Linked DNA regions of Homo sapiens: regions 2 and 3 are each linked to region 1. Evidence: promoter capture Hi-C in human tissues and cell types (Jung and others, 2019). All regions are on one chromosome and are shown on one strand. Each heading gives the region's core, a stretch centred on a gene start or on the middle of the fragment in contact. The rest is flanking DNA. Distances are from core to core; before and after follow the strand shown.

Region 1 (4,266 bases), core at 1,010-3,509:
CTGGACCCGGTGACTCAAGCCTGTAATCCCAGTTCGGGGAGGGGCTGGAGAGGGTGGAGGATGGTGCCGAGGAGAGAGAATCACTTGAGCCCAGGAGTTTGAGGCTACAGTGAGATGTGATCACGCAAGAGACAGGATCTTGCTGTTGCTCAGGCTGGTCGTGAACTCCTGACCTCAAACAGTCCTCCCATCTCAGCTTCCACCAGTAGCTGGGATTATGGGCTTGTGCCACCACACCCAGCCAATTCTCTAATTTTTTATAGAGACAGGATCTTGCTATGTTGCCCAGGCTGGTCTGGGCTCAAGTGATCCTCCCAACTCAGCCACCCAAAGTGCTGTGATTACAGGCTTGAGCAATCACATCCAGGCTCTAAATTAATTTTAAAGATGCTTCATTTCACCCAATACATCCAAAGTGCTATCATTTCAACATCTAATGAATATATAAATTATAATTAAGCTGTTTTACTTTTTTTTTTTTCTCCACAGTAAATCTTCAAATTCTGGGGTATGTTTTACACTCACTGAAAAAATGAGGTTGCACCACCTACATTCCAGGTGCTCGATAGTGACATGTGACCTGGGGACCCCAGTGGACAGCACAGACTCAATGAACCTGCTGTTCTAGATGCTACTTTTAGGGTAATTTGTTATGGCAGCAATGCAAAGGAAATACACACCAACGCACACACAGTCCCACGTCATGGGTGTCTTTTCCTCATTGTTTATTTCAACAAGGATTTCAAAAAGTAGAAAAATAAACATTTTCCTGGAGGTGAGTTGGATTTACATACACAAATACATAAATAGCGACTGGGTGACAATAAATTAAGCCAAGTGGCTAATTTATAAATAAAATCTCAGGTTGCATGACTGGCGGAAGGGTCAGACACACAGGTCCCCGCTGGCAACACAATTCAGGTCTCGCGTGAGGAGGCGGAAGAGGTTGAAGGTGACAGAGGCCTCGAGGCAGCCAGGGGACTCCTGTAGGGAGGAGGGGATGGGTCAGGGGCTGTCTGGGTTCTGGGCTCCCAGTGGCTCCCCAGACCTCAGTCCCTCTCTTCCCGGGTCACTCACCTTTTTTGGGGCCTCCTGGAGCCGGTGCAGCCAATGGTGGAGGCGGCCCCGGGTCCTGGGCCCTGCCGTGGGCTGAGGCTGGATCTGTGGGCAGAGGAGGGCGGTGTGTGAGCCGGGGCCTTGGCCAGGGGAAGGACGCTGCTCAGAGCTCACAGACCTGGGTGCCCGGGCCCTGACGACTCACACAGGCCCGGAGCTGGGAGAGGATATGGTGCAGGGTGTGAAGGGGCTGGTCCAAGACATCCCCCAGGGCTGGGTCAGTGTCAGCGGTGGCCTCCAGAACCTTCAGCGTCAGGGCCAGCTCAGCCTCCAAAGCCACGGGGCGCTCCCTCACCTGAGGAGAGGTGAGAAAGAGCAGGTGAGGGGGGAGGTGAGGGGAACAGGTTGGGGGAGGAGGATAGAGAGGAACAAGTGAAGGTGACAGGCACAGGGGAGAGGGCACAGCCAGTGTGGTCAGGTAGGAGCAGAGGGAAGGGGTAGCAGGTGTGGGGAGAGGAGAGAGGGACAATGGAGAAGGAGAAGGTGAAGGGGCCACTACAGAGCCAGGTGAGCAGGGCTGGGAGGGCAGGGGTGGGCCTGACTCCCCCTCTCACCTGCAGCTGCCTCAGGTCCCAGGTCCTGGGGAAGAGGCGGGAGCGGCACTTGCAGTCCTTCAGCAGAAGCGACTCTTCCTAGACAGCAAAGGCACAGGTTAGCCCCAGCAGGAGGGGTGGAGGTTAGACCACTCTGATGGGATTGGAGGATGGCTGACAACAGGATAGGGGAGGTTAACTGCTGGGAGGATGGTAGAGGACCCTCTTCTTCAGGAAAACATGAGTCAGTCCCTGCAGTAGGAGCATGAGATAGCCCACTGCAGGGAGGGTGGAGGCTAGCCCAGTGAAGGAAGCTGGGAGTGGGAAAGCATGGTGACCCTTGGAGTGCGGGTGGAGGCTAGTCCATGGCAGGAGGGCAGGGGGAGACTCACTAAGGCATCTTTGGCCCTCTTAAAGGCCTGCAGCTCCTGTGGAGACAGGGACTTGAACTGGGCTATGTGGCAGCCCCTTGCATCCGGGAGAGCCCCGCGGAGCCTGGCGACAGGAACTGCTCCAGTCACGGTCAGCACTGCGGCCATCAGCACCAGCACTGGCATGCAGTCCCCGGTCATGTCTGTGTCACAGAGAGAAAGGGAGCTGAGGGAATGCAGAGGCTGCCCACTGAGGGCAGGGGCTGCAGGAGCTGAGCACGGACAGAGATGTGGGACTCACCTAGTTTCATTCCTGATCTCTGGTCTTTGTCAGCAGAAGAAACACTCTGAGGCTGTCACCCAGGGTCTGTTTGGGTCTTGTCTGGAGTCTCTGTTCTTTTCAGTCCCCTCTTCTGGATCTCAGACTGTGTCCTGGCTTTGACTCTTTCTGTCAGTTTTGAGCTCTGTCTGGGATGTAATTCCTGCCTGAGCTCCATGGGGCAGCTTTTATCCCTGACAGAAGGGCAGTCCCAGCTGATGTAGGAAAAGTGAAAACACAGCCTCAGGTAAGACACCGGCCACCAGGGGAGCCCCAGGCTGGGAAAGCCCAGAGCAGGGCAGGGCTAGTGAGCCAGATGAGCAGCTGGAGGGAAAGAGAAACTGATGGAGACTCAGGGGTAACCTACAGGAAGGTATGTTCCCAAGAGGATTCCACCTGCTCTGGTTTTGTTGTTGTTTAAGACAGGGTCTCACTCTGTCACTGCAGTGCAATGGCATGATCACAGCTCACTGCAGCCTCAAACTCCTGGGCTCAAGCCATCCTCCTCACCCAGCCTATTAAAGTGCTGAGATTACAGGCCTGAGCCACCACTCCTGGCATATATATATATATATATATATATATATTTTGAGACAGGGTCTTGTTCGGTCACCCAGGCTGGAGTGCAGTGCAAAATCTTGGCTAACTGCAACCTCCGCCTCCTGGGTTCAAGCAATTCTCTTGCCTTAGCCTCCCAAGTAGCTGAGATTACAGATTTGTGCCACCATTCCCAGCTAATTTTTATATTTTTAGTAGAGATGGCGTTTCACCATGTTGGCAAGGCTGGTCTCAAATTCCTGATGTCAAGTCATCTCTCTGTCTAGGCCTCCCAAATTGCTGGGATTTCAGTGTGAGCCACCATGCCCAGAGGCCAATATTTCTTAATTGCCCAGGCAAGGAAGGACTCAGGAATATGAGGCTCTGCTCAAGAATTGAGGTGTGACGAAGGACTTGAAGGACACCACGTGGGTGCCGTCTTTCTTAGGGAAGTTCAGGCAGTGGTGAAGAGCATGGGTCTTGGAGATGAAGGGTCTGGGGTTCAAACCTGGTTCTGACCCTCACTAGCCGTGTGACCTTGGCAAGGAGGGGTGCATTCAGCAACGCAGATTGCTAATGCACAGATTTGGAGAAAAAATTAATAACACAATTGTTTGTGTATTTATGTGAGTGATTATTTAATAGAATCCACTCATTAAGACCATACTAGGACCTCAGCTGGAGAGTTTAAAACGTGATCTCAACGGACACTACTCCTCCACAAGGCAAGTATGCTAACCCATCCTATAGGTGAGGAAACAGAGGCTCAGAAAAGTAATTTGCCCTGAATTCCACTGTAATTAACTGGCAGGGTCAGAACTGAAACTCAGGCCACCTGAGTCCCTGGCTCGGCCTCTTTTTTTGCTGTAAGGTGCACCTCACAATCATCATACGGAAAACAACCAATGCGATCAAAACACTCTTTGATAACTGGCAATAAATTTAAACCGGGAGACAGAATAGCAAATGCACAGGAACTTCACAAATACAAACACACGTAAGGGAATCCAAAGAACCACAGTCGGTTAAGGACCCTTGGGCCTTTCACTACCAAATCCCTCATGGATTGGTGTCCCTTAGATGCCGGATCCAAGAGTCACGGATTCACAGAATCTCAAAGCTGGCTGTGGGGCTACAAATCCGGGGTTAGGACCTGGTGTTGGGGGTGTCCTGGTAACCACACAAGGAGGAACTGGTCCCTGTTGCCTGGGGTCAGCCACGGTTTCCAGAGCTCAAGTTTTTTCCTGCCACAGCAACCGTTGGAGGGTCGTACAATGCACCCCGAGGAAATATCGTGGCTTCCTGGAGAACTGTGGTCTCTTCCCTGTAGAAGGACCCGCTCCTCTTATATCTGAGACAGTGGATCCAAGTCAGGCCCAAGGCTGCGAAG
Region 2 (4,258 bases), core at 1,619-4,118, 260 kb before region 1:
TTGTCTTCCTGTTTGGTGCACTTTCCTCTGATTCCTCCCCACCCTTCATCTATTTTACATGTACCTACCCTTCCCTAATTTTTTTTTCTTTTCTTTCTTTTTTTGAGATGGAGTCTCGCTCTGTTGCCCAGGCTGGAGTCCAGTGGCATGATCTTGGTTCACTGCAACCTCCGCCTCCTGGGTTCAAGCAATTCTCCTGCCTCAGCCTCCCAAGTAGCTGGGATTACAGGTGCCCGCTACCACGCCTGGCTCATTTTTGAATTTTTAATAGAGACAGGGTTTTACCATGTTGGCCAGCCTGGTCTCAAACTCCTGACCTCAGGTGATCTGCCTGCCCTGGCCTCCCAAAGTGCTGGGATTACAGGTGTGAGCCACCACACCCAGCCCGTAATTGGTTTTTTACACTGTCATGCCCATCTTTGAATGGTGCCTTTGTTTTAGCCTCTTTTGCATACTCACAAACCAATCAGCATGCACTCCCCCATTCTAAGTCCATAAAAGCCCCAGACCCAGCCACACTGAGGGAGAGACCACCTGACTTCAGGTGGGGGACTACCCTCACATCCCCTCTCTGCTGAGAGCTTTTATGTCACTTAATAATAAAAATCTTCTCCACCCTTCTCACCCTTGGATTGTAAGTGTGATCTCATTCTTCTTGGACGTGGGACAAGAACTTGGGACCCTGCCGAATGTAGGTACAAAGAAGGCAGTAGCACCATAGCTCCCCACGATTGGTGCCTAGCGGCCACCCCATGCAACAGAAAGCAGTGGCAAGACCAGGCCAGCCCTGGAGCTACAGGCCAGAGTGGGGCAACATAACAGAACTACTAACATGCCTCCTTTCGTCAGGCTGTGGAGGGACTAACAGAGCTGTTAGCATGCTATAACACCACCTCTGGGACTTCAGGGTCATGGGCTTCCCTGTTTGGGTGCCGCCGTGTTCTCCTTGTCTGAACGCCAGAGTACACAGTGGGAGCCGCTTGCAACACACCTGGTCCAGCCACAAACCCTACATGGAGCCTGCCCCTGTGTCAGTGCTTGCAGGGGCCAGTGGGACCCCACACTTGCTAGTTCACACACCCCCTCCCACCCAGGGGCTGAGTGCAAAGTCACGGTGGCTGTGGGATCCATGCCAGAGTGCAATCCAGCTGTGCCCTGGTGGGCTGAGTGGGCAGGGTGCCTCCTGCAACAAACCTGGGAACAGTGCAAGGCCAGGGCAGTGGCATTGCTGGCCAGAGGTCTCTGGGCAGCAATGTGGCTGAGAAAAATCCTGCATCGGTGGCAACTCCTGGGATGATCCTCTCGAAGCACTCAGCCGGGAGCCTGGCCCTGCAGACTCCTACATTATGAGCCTTTAGAAGACAAAAGAAATGCCCAAAACAAAGCAGTCCAGCTTTGCCTTAGTGATGGCTGTCAAGGGACCCAGTTAATCAATTAGAGATACATCTGCACTGTGAAGATGTGCATAGTTGGAGGGCAGAAAGTTAAAAATTAAAAGCTTACCAGATAGAGAAAAATCTTTTTTTTTTTTTTTTTCAGGCAGAGTCTTTCTCTGTCGCCCAGGCTGTGTGCAGTGGTGCCATCTCGGCTCACTGCAACTTCCGCCTCCCGAGTTCAAGCAATTCTCCTGCCTCAGCCTTCTGAGTAGCTGGGATTACAGGCGCCCACCACCATGCCTGGCTAATTTTTGTATTATTAGTAGAGATGGAGTTTCACCATATTGGCCAGGCTGGTCTCAAACTCCTGACCATGTGATCCACCTGCCTCAGCCTCCCAAAGTGTTGGGATTACAGGTGTGAACCACCGTGCCCGGCCAGGAAGATCTTCTGAACAAAAAAGGAAACTTGCAAGGAATCCTCTTGGAAAATGTAGGGCACAAAAAATATCCATTTAGATATAAATAGAGACATAGAGACACAACCCCTGGTAGGGATAGAGACAGGTACACACACACACAGAACTGAAGGCACACACACACACACACACACACACACACACACACTTTTTTTTGTTTTGTTTTGAGACAAGGTCTTGCTCTGTTGCCCAGGCTAGAGTGCAGTGGCATGATCATGGCTCATGACAGCCTCGACCTCCTGGGTTCAAGTGATCCTCCCACCTCAACCTCCCAAGTAGCTGGGACTACAGGTGTGCACCACCACACCTGGCTTTTTTTTTTTTTTTTGGGGTAAAGATAGGGTATCACCATGTTCCCAGGGCTGGTCTCCTGGGCTCAAGCAATCCTTCCGCCTCAGCTTCCCAAAGTGCTGGGATTACAGGCGTGAGCCACAATACCTAGACAGGCACAGACTCATAGAGTAAGCTCCAAAAAAATTCTCAAGCCACATGCCACCTGGAGAGACTACTGTCTGCAAGGGTGTCACAGGAGGCCGTGTGGGGGTCTGGGTTGCCTCCCACCTAGATACTCCAGGATAATCTTCTTGTCTCAAAACCTATAACTTCGGCCAGGTGTGGTGGCTCACACCTGTAATTTCAGCAGTTTGGGAAGCTGGGGCAGGAGGATAACTTTAGCTTAGGAATTCGAGACCAGCCTGGGCAACGTAGGGAGACCTCGTCTCTAAAAAACAAAGATCCCCCCACCCACCTTAACGTCATTATATCTGCAAAGTTATTTTTGCCATATAAGGAAACATTCACAAATTCCAGAGGTTAGGACCTGGATAATTTTGGCAGAAGGGGGGATTATTCAGTCTACCATACACCATAGTTATTTATTTAAATTTTTTTTGAGACACAGTCTCACTCTGTTACCCAGGGTGGAGTGCAGTGGTGCGATCTTGGCTCATTGCAATCTCCACCTCCTGGGTTCCAGCAATTCTCCTGCCTCAGCCTCCCAAGTAGCTGGGATTATAGGTGCACTCTGCCACGCCTGGCTAATTTTTGTATTTTTAGTAGAGATGGGGTTTTACTATGTTGGCCAGGCTGGTCTCAAACTCCTGACCTCATGTGATCCACCTGCCTTGGCCTCCCAAAATGCTGGGATTATAGGCGTGAGCTACCATGCCTGGGCTCTTTTTTTTTTTTTTTTTTTTTTTTTTTTTTGAGATGGAGTCTTGATCTGTTGCTCAGGCTGGAGTGCAATGGCATGATCTTGGCTCACTGCAACCTCCATCTCCCAGGTTCAAGCAATTTTCTTGCCTCAGCCTCCCTAGTAGCTGGGACTACAGCCATGTACCACCACACCCAGCTAATTTTTTTGTATTTTTAGTAGAGATGGGGTTTCACTGGTGTTGGCCAGGCTGGTCTCCTGACCTCAAGTAATCCTCGGCCTCCCAAAGTGCTGGGAATACAGGCATCAGCAACCACGCCTGTCGTCTTGCTATGTTGCCCAGGCTGGTCTTGAACTCCTGACCTCAAGTGATCCTCCCACCTCGGCCTCCCAAGGTGCTGTGATTACAGGCATGAACCACCATGTCTGGCTCGGACCATAGTTCTTTTATAATAATAGTGGTCATCATTCTAGTAGTTGTTATCTAATCACATTTTATAATCATTAGTTCTAAAATATTAAGTGCCAAAATAAATAAATAAAAAAGAAAAAAAATAAAAATAAAATAAAATCTTAAGTGCCAGGTTCTGGGCTAAGAGATCTAGGTACAGTATCACATCTAATTCTTCCAGCAACTCTCTGGAATAGGGACCTTTGCTACCCTGAAGAAACAAGTAGAGACAATAGCGCTAAGAAACAGAGAAGCCTAGGCCGGGTGCAGTGGCTCACGCCTGTAATCCCAACACTTTGGGAGGCCTAGGTGGGTAGATCACCTGAGGTCAGGAGTTTGAGACCAGCCTGGCCAACATGATGAAACTCCATTTCTATTAAAAATACAAAAAATTAGCCAGGCGTGGTAGCGGGTGCCTGTAATCCCAGCTACCTGGGGGACTGAGATAGGAGAATCGAGGTAACGGTTGCAGTGAGCAGAGAGAGTGCCACTGCACTCCAGCATGGGTGACAGAGCAAGACTCCATCTCAGAAAAAAAAATAAATAAAGAAATATAAAAATACAAAAAGTTATCCAGGCATGGTGGTACATGTCTGTAATCCCAGCTACTTGGGAGGCTGAGGCAGGGGAATCACTTGAACCTGGGAGGTGGAGGTTGCGGTGAACCAAGATCGCACCATTGCACTCTGGCCTGGGTGACAGAGCAAGACTCTGTCTCAAAAAAAGAAATTATATATATATATATATATTTGTGGAATGAATGAGTAAATTAATATGTGAAAGAAGCTGTGGTGTTAAAA
Region 3 (4,311 bases), core at 263-2,762, 310 kb after region 1:
TAATCCCAACTACTCCGGAGGCTGAGGCAGGAGAATTGCTTGAACCCGGGAGGCGGAGGTTGCAGTGAGCCAAGACCGGGCCACTGCACTCCAGCCTGGGTGGCAGAGTGAGATTCCACCTGTCAAAAAAAAAAAAAAAAAAAAAAAAGAGGCCAGGACTCAGAGCATCCTGGTAACGGTTGTGCAGAATCCACACTCCAGCTGGGAACACTGGGGAAAGTGGAGCCCACCGTTTTCTCTCTCCTTACTGTCGGGTCAGGCTTCTGCCCACTAGAGGGCAGCCAAGTCAAAATCTTGATAGAAACAAGTTCTAAAGACTTACCCAGATTTGCTATCTCTTCTGAGATAGTGTTTTTTTTTTCTTTTTTTTTCCTCTTTTTTTTTTGAAATAAGGCCTGGCTCTGTCGCTCAGGCTGGAGTGCAGTGGCACGATCTCGGCTCACGGCAACCTTTGCCTCCTGGGCTCAAGCTATCCCCCTGCCTCAGCCTCACGAATAGCTAGGATTACAAATGCATGCCACCATGCCCGGCTAATTTTTGTAGAGACGGGGTTTCACCATGTTGTCCAGGCTGGTCTTGAACTCCTGGGCTCAAGAGATCCACCTGCCTTGGCCCCCGAAAGTGTTGGGATTACAGGCGTGAGCCATCAGGGGCGGCCTTCTGAGATTGTTAATGTGAAAAATTCTATCGAAGTTGTCTATCAAAGTTGTCATCCACCATTTGTCTCTTATGAGTGTTCTTTTTTTTGAGATGGAGTCTTGCTCTGTCGCCCAGGCTGGAGTGCAATGGTGCGATCTCGGCTCACTACAACCTCCACCTCCCAGGTTCAAGCGATTTTCCTGCCTCAGCCTCACAAGTAGCTGGGATTACAGGCTCTCGCCACCATGCTGGCTAATTTTTGTATTTTCAGTAGAGGTGGGTTTCACTATCTTGGTCAAGCTGGTCTCGAACTCCTGACCTCAGGTGATCCGCCCACCTTTGGCCTCCCAAAGTGCTGGGATTACAGGTGTGAGCCACCGTGCCTGGCCCTTTTGAGTGTTCTTTTGGGACCCTGTCAGAGCAACTTACTAAGTACTTCCTCTATTGTTAACTTGTTGAGTTGATGTCTCCTCTGAAATTTTGTGTATATTTTGAGGAGATGGACTATTTCTAGAGGTCTCTCCAGAACTGAAACTGTGGTTTCCTGTAAGTCTACGAATACTGACTTCTCTTTTTTTTCCCTTTGAGACAAGGTCTTGTTCTGTCACCCAGGCTGGTGCAATCATGTCTCACTGCAGCTTCGACCTCCTGGGCTCCACTGATCCTCCTACCTCCGCCTCCTGAGTAGTTGGGACAATAGGCATATGCCACCATGCCTGGCTAATTTTTTTTGTTTTTGGTATATTTTGTAGAGATGGGGTTTTGCCATGTTGCCCAGGTTCTGACTTTTAATAAATAAGAAATTTGGTCTCTGTATCTTTCTTTTCCCCTTTATACTTCACTGAAGAAAATGAAGGTGGGCTTCTTCATGGGGCTGGGCCAGTAAAATTAGGCTACACTCATATAAGCATTTCCCCAAATCCTCCTAATACCTCTTGTGAAAAAGGGTATCTGCCACATAATACCATCAATTCTGTGACAAATTATTCTAACCCGCTGGTTCTCCATCCTGTCTGCACATTGAAATCACAGGGGAATGACATCTACTGATGCCCCTGTCTCTCTCTCAGAGATTCTGAGTGGGGAGGGAATTTGTGTTGGTGTAAGTGTGTGCCCCACAAGGGAAGGACCTGCCCAACACACCGTGTGCTTTGCCCTCAGCAAGGAGCCACAGCTGCAGGTGGATTTCCACACCGGGATGGATGAGGACTCAGACATCGCTTTCCATTTCCGAGTGCACTTTGGTCATTGTGTGGCCATGAACAGCCATGAGTGGGGGGTCTGGAAGTGTGAGGTGAAATCTGACAATATGCCCTTTGAGGGTGGCCAATCATTTGACCTGCGCATCTGAGTGCTGGACAAGGAGGACCAGGTGAGCACCCCAGGAGCTCCCAGCATGCAGCCTCTGTGGACTCCCAGAGCAGGAGGTAGCTCTCCCTGCCCTGGCCCCACCAGTCCCTCGGGACCCATCTCCCATAACGACTCCTGCCCCAGGCTTTTCATCACAGAGCACCCTCTGCTTGCACTGCCACCCTCAGCTCTTTCCCAAATCTGACCAAGGTCAAGGTTGGTTCACTTGCCATTTCCCCCAAGGTGGAGAATCATTTCCATAGCTGTCATTTCTGCTCATGCTGTTATTTACATTTTCATGTGGCCAAATAGACAAAATACATGTATGAATCAAATTATTTTAGTCAGTCAAAAATTAACTCTTCCTTTCACTCCCGAACCTCACTCCTACTCCCCAGAACAACACTACCAGCTTCTCTGCTCTCCTTCCAGAGATAATCTACCATTAGAGAACCGTATATTTCCTCTTCCTCATTTGTATAATATGCTTTCATTCCTTTTTGTATATATGCCTATACACATATTCATATATACATATATGCATATATGCTTTCATTTCTTTTTAAACAAATGCTGTTATAAATGTCTTTGTACATTACACTTTGGAAACTAGAGTCGATTTATAGTCAAAGAACATATCTTGGAGAATTCATCTATCTATGGTGCTGCTTCATTTTTCTTTTTTTTTTTTTTGAGATGGAGTTTCGCTCTTGTTGCTCAGGCTGGAGTGCAATGGCGCAATCTCAGCTCACTGCAACCTCCACCTCACAGGTCCAAGCGATTCTCCTGCCTCAGCCTCCCAAGTAGCTGGGATTAAAGAGATGCACCACCACGCCTGGTTAATTTTTTGTATTTTTAGTATAGATGGGGTTTCTCCATGTTGGTCTGGCTGGTCTCGAACTCCTGACCTTAGGTAATCTGCCCGCCTTGGCCTCCCAAAGTGCTGGCATTACAGGCATGAGCCACTGCGCTTGGCCTGCTGCTTCATTTTTTAAAGATTGCATAATATGCCAGTAGAAGGATGATCCAAAATGATTGAACTTGACCGTTTTGATGGTTACTGCGTGGTTTTTAGTATTTTGCTCTCACAAAGGGTGCTGTATTAAGCTTTCTAATCAACTCTTTTGTAATTATCAACCTACCAATACTTACATTGGAGGATACTTGCAAAGACATAAAATAATTGGTTGAAAATTGTGTGAAAAATCTTAAAATTTCATAAATTAATACCTTTAAGATGACTTTCTTCATAGCTACAGCAATACAGATTATATTGAAATTTTCTCACCTTCTCTAACGGGTAGGCCAAAAGGTGAACATTTTATTCAGCTCTAAGTGAGGCATCTGTTCATATGCCTACTATAGGCTGCTAAAATAATATCCTATGTTTTGCAACATCTGTCCTGTTCCTCCTCTCTAAGAACACTTGGGTTTCATTCTTGGCCACCTCCAGCCCAGATCTGGGCTACTCCAAAGAGAAACTGGGCCATCAGCAGTGAATGGGAGTCACAGTTGGTGGAACTTAAAAGTACCCATTCAATAAACATTGTCAAGCACTAACCTCGTGGCAGGCCCTGTGCAAGATGCAGGAATTCAAGGTCAAGAGACACAATCCCTGGCCATGGGGATCTTCCAGGCTAGAGGGGAGATCCAGCAAACAGGGACCACGTGACATAGAGGGGTAGAGCCTCACTGGAAGAATGAGAGGAAACATTGAAAATGCAGTGAGCAACTGTCTCAGATAGCCACAAAATGTAGTCTGTAAACAGAAGTGAGTCTGCCGGGTTTTGATGTATAATTAGGAGTTTTCTGGGTGGGTGTTGTAGGTACTAGGGCAGAGTAGAGAGGAGGCTGAAAGCTTGTTTGGTGAAATACTGTCTTTCTGATGCACTTTTCCTCTTGCAGGTAATGGTAAGTGGCCAACACTGCTACAGCTTTGCCCATCGACTCCTGCCAGGGTCTGTGAAGATGGTGCAAGTGTGGAGAGGTATCCCCCTGACCTCAATGTGTGTCTGAGATTGAGGTGATGACCACACTCCCCACTGTCGAGGAATCTCTCTTTCTACGTGACCATGCGGTTCCCAGAGCCTGCTGACAGCATGATCCCTCCTTACTCCTTCCCCTACACTTGCTCATTAAAACTTCACCAAACTTCACAGGATTTTGGCTTTTGCTTGAAGGGGAAAAAGCAAAAGTGGTCATCACCAAGAGGGCCTGAGGGGTTTCATGGGAGGCATCAAGAAATCAAAGAGAATAAAGCTTCCTGTGGCACAAGGAGTGAGTGACAAGGTCCCTGGAATGTCTGACATGACATTAGGAACA

What was found. The method cuts DNA at HindIII sites, captures the fragments that hold promoters and counts their contacts. A contact is called where the count stands out against the background at its distance.
Region 2: a fragment that was not itself captured here is called in contact with the fragment with the promoter of IFNL3 in region 1 in 2 of the 25 tissues and cell types used here (H1 embryonic stem cells and spleen).
Region 3: a contact is called between a fragment that was not itself captured here and the fragment with the promoter of IFNL3 in region 1, in 1 of the 25 tissues and cell types used here (spleen).

The regions. Positions count from the first base shown.
Region 1 is chr19:39,242,747-39,247,012 of GRCh38, forward strand. It overlaps IFNL3 (interferon lambda 3), which reads right to left and starts at 2,260. Exons shown (of 5, transcript NM_172139.4): 1 at 2,042-2,260; 2 at 1,671-1,748; 3 at 1,262-1,411; 4 at 1,078-1,161; 5 at 807-984. The coding sequence starts at 2,221. The coding sequence ends at 886. It also overlaps the pseudogene IFNL4. The HindIII fragment of the contact is 34,684 bases long and covers 1-4,266 here.
Region 2 is chr19:38,980,104-38,984,361 of GRCh38, forward strand. No RefSeq gene overlaps it. Among named protein-coding and RNA genes, the nearest start is that of FBXO17, 6.5 kb to the left of the region's middle. The HindIII fragment of the contact is 8,720 bases long and covers 1-4,258 here.
Region 3 is chr19:39,551,346-39,555,656 of GRCh38, forward strand. LOC105372399 (a long non-coding RNA gene) reads left to right here. Exons shown (of 3, transcript XR_935966.3): 2 at 1,801-2,011; 3 at 3,895-4,311. Among named protein-coding and RNA genes, the nearest start is that of EID2, 13 kb to the left of the region's middle. RefSeq lists an enhancer at 1,273-1,362. The HindIII fragment of the contact is 3,917 bases long and covers 1-3,471 here.